2 separate regions of the Homo sapiens genome follow, and region 2 is linked to region 1. Evidence: promoter capture Hi-C in 16 types of primary human blood cells and fetal thymus (Javierre and others, 2016). All regions are on one chromosome and are shown on one strand. Each heading gives the region's core, a stretch centred on a gene start or on the middle of the fragment in contact. The rest is flanking DNA. Distances are from core to core; before and after follow the strand shown. Region 1 holds the start of RNF19B (ring finger protein 19B). Region 2 holds the start of MARCKSL1 (MARCKS like 1).

Region 1 (4,118 bases), core at 716-3,215:
ACACCCAGATAATTTTTGTATTTTTTGTAGAGATGGGGTTTTGCCATGTTGCTCAAGCTGGTCTCAAACTCCTGGGCTTAAGAGATTCACCAGCCTAGGTCTCCCAAAGTGTTGTAATTACAGGTGCGAGCCACAGCTCCTGGCCCATCTTACCATTCCTTATTAATAACAGAGCACTCATTGTTAGCTGGGCACATTGTACCCAGTTAAGAGAATGTTTCCCAGGCTCCCTTGCAGCTGAGTATGGCCATGTGAGTGAGTATGTTTTGGCAAAAATGTGCGGGACTTTCGAGGCAGTCCTTTTTTCTTTCTTTCTTTTTCTTTTTCTTTTTTTTTTTTTTTTGAGACAGAGTCTCGCTCTGTCGCCCAGGATGGAGTGCAGCGGCGCGATCTCGGCTCACTGCAACCTCCGCCTCCTGGGTTCACGCCATTCTCCTGCCTCAGCCTCTCGAGTTGCTGGGATTACAGGCGCCCGCCACCACGCCCGGCTAATTTTTTATATTTTTAGTAGAGACGGGATTTCACTGTGTTAGCCAGGATGGTCTCCATCTCCTGACCTCGTGATCCGCCAGCCTGGGCCTCCCAAAGTGCTGGGATTACAGGCGTGAGCCTCCGCGCCCAGCCCCAAGGCAGTCTTCTTAAAAGGAAGAGGATGCATCTTTCTTCCCTTTTTCCTTCCCACTGTTTGGAATATGGACCATAGTGAGGTGACCTTAACACTGGAAGCCAAATACTGAGGATGGCTGAACAGCCCTGAACTGCCTACTTTTGGACTTATATTTCATGGAAAGAGAGAAATTTCTGGCTAGGTGCAGCGGCTCATGCCTGTAATCCCAGCACTTTGAGAGGCCAAGGCAGGAGGATCGCTTGAGCCCAGGAGCTCGAGACCAGCCTGAGCAACACAGGGAGATTTCATCTCCATGAAAAAAATAAAAATAATAGGCAGGCCTGGTGGCGCACCTGTGCTCCCAGCTACTCCAGAGGTTGGGGTGGGAGGATCGCTTAAGCTTGGGAGGTTGAGGCTTCAGTGAGCTGTGATCACGCCACTGCACTCCAACCTGGGTGACAGAGCAAAACCGTCTCAGGAAAAAAAATAAATAAATTTCAATCGTAAGCTATTTTTTTCTTTTGTTATTTGCAATTGAATGTAATCCTGATACATTCCTGTTGTTGAAGCTGTTTGCCTGCCTCCCACTAGGAAGCCTAAGGGTCCAGATCCTCCCCCAGTCAGAGGAATGGGGAACTAGAAAAAGAAAGGCAAAGGCACTGCCAGGCAAGAAAACGCTGGGTCTCCTTCCACAAGTTTGGTAAGTAAGCAAGATACCAGGAGGATAGAATGGTAAGTGAGCCTAGAAATAGACTATTATATACATAGGGTTTATTAAATACATAGAGAACACTGAATGCTAGACTAAGAAATTTGGACTTTATTCTGGAAGTCCCTTGCAATAGGGGACCTTGTCTGTTTTATTTTCTAATGCCTCGCACTTTGTAGAAGCTCAGTGAATGAATATATTCTTTATTAATTTATGCCGTCTGCTTAATAAACAGAAATGTTGGAAGGTGAACCAGTTGGGAGTCACCATCTGATCAACCCCTGCCTGCTTTTTATAAATAATGTAACTGAACCATCATTTACTGGAAGTGGCAATCAACCTGTGAGGAACGGCAAACCAAAAAGTCCACCTTGGGTGTCATGGTGATGGAATTGGAGGCGGAGACCAGGGAGAGCAGCGGGCTAGGATCTCTGAGAGTCTCCGCAACATGGCGGCCCTGGAACCACCTGACCGGCAGGAGGCGGAGCTCCGCCCCAGCTCGCTCGGCCCCACCCCGCTCGGCCCTGCCCAGCGCACTCCTAGACCGGGGCGCAAGGGTTGTGAGGTGTTTGAGCGAAGCGCCTGCGCAGGGCAGCGGCGCGCGGGGCGGAGGCTTTATAATCACTTCGTCGTTGCCGCTCGGCTTCTATCGCCGGGAGGGCGGTTGAGGCGGTGGTGGCGGCGTCGGCGGCGGCCGGGCGCTGGCTGAGGGGCGCTGAGGCGGGAGCTGTGGCGGCGCTGGGCGCCCCTGGCTCCTCGGCCTCTGCCGGCCATGGGCTCCGAGAAGGACTCCGAGTCGCCGCGCTCCACATCGCTACATGCGGCCGCACCCGACCCTAAGTGCCGCAGCGGCGGCCGGCGCCGGCGCCTCACCTTGCACAGCGTCTTCTCTGCCTCGGCCCGCGGCCGCCGCGCCCGGGCCAAGCCGCAGGCCGAGCCGCCGCCCCCGGCTGCGCAGCCGCCGCCCGCCCCGGCCCCTGCCGCGGCCCAGGGCCCGCCGCCCGAGGCGCTGCCCGCCGAGCCGGCCGCCGAGGCCGAGGCGGAGGCCGCGGCGGCGGCGGCGGAGCCTGGGTTCGACGATGAGGAGGCGGCGGAGGGCGGTGGCCCGGGCGCGGAGGAGGTGGAGTGTCCGCTGTGCCTGGTGCGGCTGCCGCCTGAGCGGGCCCCGCGCCTCCTCAGCTGTCCGCACCGCTCGTGCCGGGACTGCCTCCGCCACTACCTGCGCCTGGAGATAAGCGAGAGCAGGGTGCCCATCAGCTGCCCCGAGTGCAGCGAGCGACTCAACCCGCACGACATCCGCTTGCTGCTCGCCGACCCGCCGCTTATGCACAAGTACGAGGAGTTCATGCTGCGCCGCTACCTAGCCTCGGACCCCGACTGCCGCTGGTGCCCGGCCCCGGACTGCGGGTGAGCGCGGGGGCGTGGCGCGGGTGGCGGCGGGCTGCAGCCGAGGGGCGTGGCTGGGGGCAGCAGGGACCCCGCGTGGGTGTCCCAAGCAGGGAAACCCGCAAGGCGGCAGCTTCGGCGGGGTGGTAACCATCAGGCAAGCCCAGACTAGTGGTGTGAACGCACCCGACACCCCGCCCCCTGCCCCAGGGCTCGAGGTGGCTGCTAAGCATTCGGTGAGGGGAAGGGAGCTGTCCAAGTTAGGAGACAGGGAGAGGCGGTTTTTTTGTTGGGGGAATGCCCTCTGTCCGGAGGTGAGGACAGTATCTTTTTTTTTTTTTCTTTTTTTTTTTGGAGACGGAGTCTCGCCCTGCCGCCCAGGCTGGAGTGCAATGGCGCGATCTCGGCTCACTGCAACCTCCGCCTCTCAGGTTCAAGCGATTCTCCTGCCTCAGCCTCCCGAGTAGCTGGGATTACAGGCGCCCGCCACCACACCCGGCTAATTTCTTTGTATTTTTAGTAGAGATGGGGTTTCACCATGTTGGCTAGGCTGGTCTCGAACTCCTGACCTCAGGTGATCCTCCTGCCTCGGCCTCCCAAAGTGCTGGGATTACAGGCGTGAGCCACCGCTCCCGGCCAAGGTGGGGAGTATCTCTTAATGAGAGTGGGGAGGGGATATTTGGCCAAGGAGGGAATGAGAATATTCTGAGGGGGCAGCGCGTCGGAGGGGTGTGTCCACTTGGCTAGGGACAGACTTAGCATTGCAGAAGAAGGCGTGTTCTCCCTGACAACCACCGCTGAAAGTTGGGATGGAGGTGACTGGGGAATAGGCTCTCGGGTACCCTGAGCACTATGTGTTCTGTGCCACGCTATCGGGAGGCACTCTGTCGTTCTTACCTTGCTGCCTTGGGTAGGGTGAGGGGTAGACAGATATGTTCTTTGTCCAGAGTCTCAATGGGGGCACTGAGAAGAATGCCCAGAGGTTGGTGTGATAGGAGAAATTGTGTTTCTGAACCCCTTTGATCTTGAGTTCTTGATGACAGTCTTTTTAATGCACCATGTAGGCTGAATTTTAAAGGGCAGTAAATTAAAATATGCAATATCTGCAGAGACATAATACACCAGATTTTGCTATCTGAAGCATTCAGTGGAGACCTTCCTCGCCCTCCCCGCCTTTAGAAGTCTAATTGTTACTGTCAGTATATCCCATGAAGGGGTTGCACGCAGGAAGAGGGGCTCATTTAAGTAGTTGGGAGTCAGACAGCCATTACCTGTTCTGTGACCTTGGGCAGATAATTTTATTCTTGTGTGTCATGTTTTGGCGACAAAAAGATGCTGGGGAGTCCTTGCAGTGTGTAAACGTAATGCTAGTAAAAAGTTGTGTGATCTTTAGCTTCAAAGGAGTTAAGGACTTTT
Region 2 (3,972 bases), core at 849-3,348, 630 kb after region 1:
AGGGATCAGGCTCCCAGGCGCCCCCTCCCCAGCCTCCTGGGATGTCTGGTGGGGATACAGGGCATCCCCTGGGGACCAGGCTCCCTCTGGGGCTCTGGGGACTTGGGGTCTTTTACCCTGATGCTCTTCGATGCCCCTCCTGGGATCCTTGGGAAGATTTGCCTCTCATCCCCGCCAGGCAGTGCCTGGGGATCAGAAGCCTTAGGTTCTGCTCTTAACCTCTGACCCCAACCCGTGCAAGACTCACACACCCTCCGTCCCTCTGAGCCCAGCCAGCTGGTGCGGGCAGCGCCTGGCAGCATTGTGGGTTCCCTATTGTGGCTGAGACAGAGAGCAGGTCATGACATCCTTCCCTTAGTGGCAAGCTGTGGAGAAGTCACGGTACTTTCAGTGAGCTGCAGTGGGGGCACAGTGCCTCTCCCCGTCCCAAAGCTAGCCCTTGCCTCCCACTCTGACCAGGCAGCCCCAGATCTCAACAGAAAATTCTGCCAGGGGATTCCTTACAGCCCTTGGCCCATGTTATCAAACCTCTCCAAGCCTTTTCTCACCCTCAGCTACTGGTAGCTGCTGTGTGCCCTTGGGCATGTCACTTTCTCTTCCTGAACCTCAGGGTCCCAGTCTGTGAAATGGGGCGGGGGTGGGGGGCAAGTGAAGCTGAGATAGCTGAGGGTATTCTGTAGTCTCAGGGTGGGGGTGGGGATGGAGGATACAGGAGTGAGTGCAGAATGCAGAAGCCACCTCAGCCCTCCCCGCCCCTCTGTGGTCAGATCTCTGGGGAGTTCCCAATTTCTCAGGCCCTGGGGTGTCTCCACACTTCACAGCCTCAGGCCTCCCAGGAGGCTTCACCGTAGGAGGGAGGGGAGGGACTTGCTGAGCTGGCTGGGACACAGCCTTGCATTTGCAACACTTTGCTTCCTTCCAGCCCCCATCCCTTTCCTCCTGGGGGCTGAGGGCTGGCAGCCGGACACAGACATCCGGGGCCGGCCAGGATTCTGGGGTTCCCACCAGCCTATCCAGGCCAGCAGAAGGAGAGGTGGCAGAGGACCAAAGCTAGGGAGTCTCCAGCCCGGAGCACCTCCGGGCTCCCTTGCTCTCAGGCAGGGTGGGAAGCTGGGCTGGGCAGCTTTGAGGGCTGTCCTCAAGGGGCTGTCCCTTGAAGGGACCCTTGGTAGCATCCTATCCCTCCCCTTCAGAAACTGGGGTGTTTTGAGGTTTGTTGAGTCCCCAGCTGGGGTTCCTCTGCCGGCCTGGGGCACCCTGATGTAGGGGAGCAGAGTTGTGTGTGGAGGTAAAGAGGAAGGACCAGAGCCAAGTCAGACAGGTTGTCAATGCCTCTGAGCCTTGGCCTTTCAATGGGGATGGAGATGCCCTTCAAGGTCACAAAGTCCCCCACGTGGGACTTTGCAGTGGGTCCAGGCTGAGGGCAGGAGGGGCTCAAGGCGAATCTGTCTGTCCCCACTCAGAATGACTGGCCACCAAGGGACTGAAAGGAGGAATGAGGGAAAGGCCTCACTAGTCCGACCAGAGTGACCCCGAGGCAAGGCAGAGCCCTCCGCTCCCCGGCTGGCCATGGCAGGCAGGCAGGGACGTGGGTGGGACCTCTGACCGCTCTCCAGGCCGGAGCGGGTGCCGAGCCCAGCGCAGGGGCCCTGCAGCTTCTATGACCACATTTCTAGAGTATAATTCAGGACCAGCCATCTGACGAGCCTGGTCGTGTGAGCCCTTCGAAGGGTTCAAGCGGGAGACTGCCAGCGGCTGCAGGACCAAGGCGTTGGGGGCCGCTCCAGGCTGCGGGGGCGCCCACCGGAGAGGTGGAGCGGAGAGGATGGAATGACTGCCCGTCTCCTTCCTCCAGGCCCCCCGCCCCGCCCCGCCCAGCTCGCGGGAGGACTGGCCTCGCTCCTGCCCACACCGGACTCTACCTGCCCCTGGGATTCGGGTGGGGTGGGGGGTACCCGACCGCCAGCGTCGCCTGCTGCGCAAGTGGGGCCTGCGAGCCAACCCCGCCTCCGCCCCTCGATTGGGCGCGCATTTAAATGTCCGGCCCCGCCCCGAGCTCCGGGCGCTTATATATAGGCAGCTCGGCGGGCGGCGGGCGGCATTCTGGCGCGGAGCGGAGCGGCGGCGGGCGCAGCTAGCGGGTCGGCCGCGGAGCGGAGGTGCAGCTCGGCTTCCCCCGGCACCCCTCCCCCTCGGGCGCCAGCCCCACCCCTCCGCCGGCCGGGCCGACCCCGCCGTACTATCCCCTGCGGCGCGAGCCCGGGGCGGCTCCAAGCGCCCCCCAGCAGACCCCCATCATGGGCAGCCAGAGCTCCAAGGCTCCCCGGGGCGACGTGACCGCCGAGGAGGCAGCAGGCGCTTCCCCCGCGAAGGCCAACGGCCAGGTGGGTACGCTTGGCCCGGCCGGCCCCAGCCCCTCCTCTCGCACCTCGCCCCTTCTAGGGCCCGGGGCCGGGGCCGGGGCCGCGCGCTTTGTCCGGCCCGGGACACGCGGCGCCCCCTCCCCCGCCCGGTCCCTTTGTTCTCGGCGCCGCAGCCCCCGCGGGCGAAGCGAGGGGAGGGGCGGGGAGGGGGCGCCGGCCGGGCCCTGCCGCCTTCTTTGTTCGCGGCCCCGGTCCCCGGCGCTGCCCCCCGGCCGCCCCGAGTGCCGCGCGGGGAACAAAGGCGCTGCTGGGCCACGCCAAGGGGGCGCCCAGGGGCCGCGGAGCTGGGGCCCGGCGGGGAGCGCACTCCACCCGCCGACCCGACCTCGGTGGCCCACGGTCTTTTTTTTTTTAAGGGGGAGCCGAGATGCGGGAGAGCCTGGGGTGGGTGGGGGCCACTTACACAAAGCGGGAGGCTGGGAAAATAGGCCGTCCAGGTGCAGAGAGACAGCGCCCCGGGGCGGCTTCCCGCCCAATGTCGCCTAGAGCGGCTCGCCCGCCTGCCCGGGATCCGCACAGCAGATCCGGAGCGGTTCCGCGCGGAATAGAGAGCGCGCCCCGGGGGACGGGGGTGGGGGCCACGGGACCCCAGCGCCTCCTGCCGGTCGCGCCCTCTGCGCGCTCGCTCCCCGCGCGCCCGTGAGGGGCGAGAGGGAGGTGTTTGACGGGATCCTGGGTGTGGGTGAGGCTGAAGCCAGACTTTCGGGTTGCAGTAGAATCGAATCGAGGACCCCTTCCTCTAGAAGGGATCAGAAGCGGGCTGGGGGAGGGGGAGCCCCTGCCCTCATTGCTATTCCCTCTGCCCTGCAGGAGAATGGCCACGTGAAAAGCAATGGAGACTTATCCCCCAAGGGTGAAGGGGAGTCGCCCCCTGTGAACGGAACAGATGAGGCAGCCGGGGCCACTGGCGATGCCATCGAGCCAGCACCCCCTAGCCAGGGTGCTGAGGCCAAGGGGGAGGTCCCCCCCAAGGAGACCCCCAAGAAGAAGAAGAAATTCTCTTTCAAGAAGCCTTTCAAATTGAGCGGCCTGTCCTTCAAGAGAAATCGGAAGGAGGGTGGGGGTGATTCTTCTGCCTCCTCACCCACAGAGGAAGAGCAGGAGCAGGGGGAGATCGGTGCCTGCAGCGACGAGGGCACTGCTCAGGAAGGGAAGGCCGCAGCCACCCCTGAGAGCCAGGAACCCCAGGCCAAGGGGGCAGAGGCTAGTGCAGCCTCAGAAGAAGAGGCAGGGCCCCAGGCTACAGAGCCATCCACTCCCTCGGGGCCGGAGAGTGGCCCTACACCAGCCAGCGCTGAGCAGAATGAGTAGCTAGGTAGGGGCAGGTGGGTGATCTCTAAGCTGCAAAAACTGTGCTGTCCTTGTGAGGTCACTGCCTGGACCTGGTGCCCTGGCTGCCTTCCTGTGCCCAGAAAGGAAGGGGCTATTGCCTCCTCCCAGCCACGTTCCCTTTCCTCCTCTCCCTCCTGTGGATTCTCCCATCAGCCATCTGGTTCTCCTCTTAAGGCCAGTTGAAGATGGTCCCTTACAGCTTCCCAAGTTAGGTTAG

What was found. Contacts are between HindIII fragments. The CHiCAGO score rates a contact against its expected background, and 5 or more counts as called.
Region 2: a contact is called between the fragment with the promoter of MARCKSL1 here and the fragment with the promoter of RNF19B in region 1, in 1 of 17 cell types (neutrophils). The highest score is 5.1, in neutrophils.

What each region holds. Positions count from the first base shown.
Region 1 is chr1:32,962,656-32,966,773 of GRCh38, reverse strand. It overlaps RNF19B (ring finger protein 19B), which reads left to right and starts at 1,965. Exons shown (of 9, transcript NM_001300826.2): 1 at 1,965-2,723. The coding sequence starts at 2,089. RefSeq lists silencers at 1,681-2,250, 2,611-2,820 and an enhancer at 1,866-2,370. The HindIII fragment of the contact is 3,974 bases long and covers 1,010-4,118 here.
Region 2 is chr1:32,334,359-32,338,330 of GRCh38, reverse strand. It overlaps MARCKSL1 (MARCKS like 1), which reads left to right and starts at 2,098. Exons shown (of 2, transcript NM_023009.7): 1 at 2,098-2,384; 2 at 3,234-3,972. The coding sequence starts at 2,298. The coding sequence ends at 3,734. LOC124903949 (a long non-coding RNA gene) reads right to left here and starts at 2,954. Exons shown (of 2, transcript XR_007065661.1): 1 at 2,827-2,954. RefSeq lists silencers at 725-853, 1,787-2,316, 2,337-2,486, 2,617-2,696, 2,837-3,276 and enhancers at 1,517-1,606, 1,876-2,445. The HindIII fragment of the contact is 20,076 bases long and covers 1-3,972 here.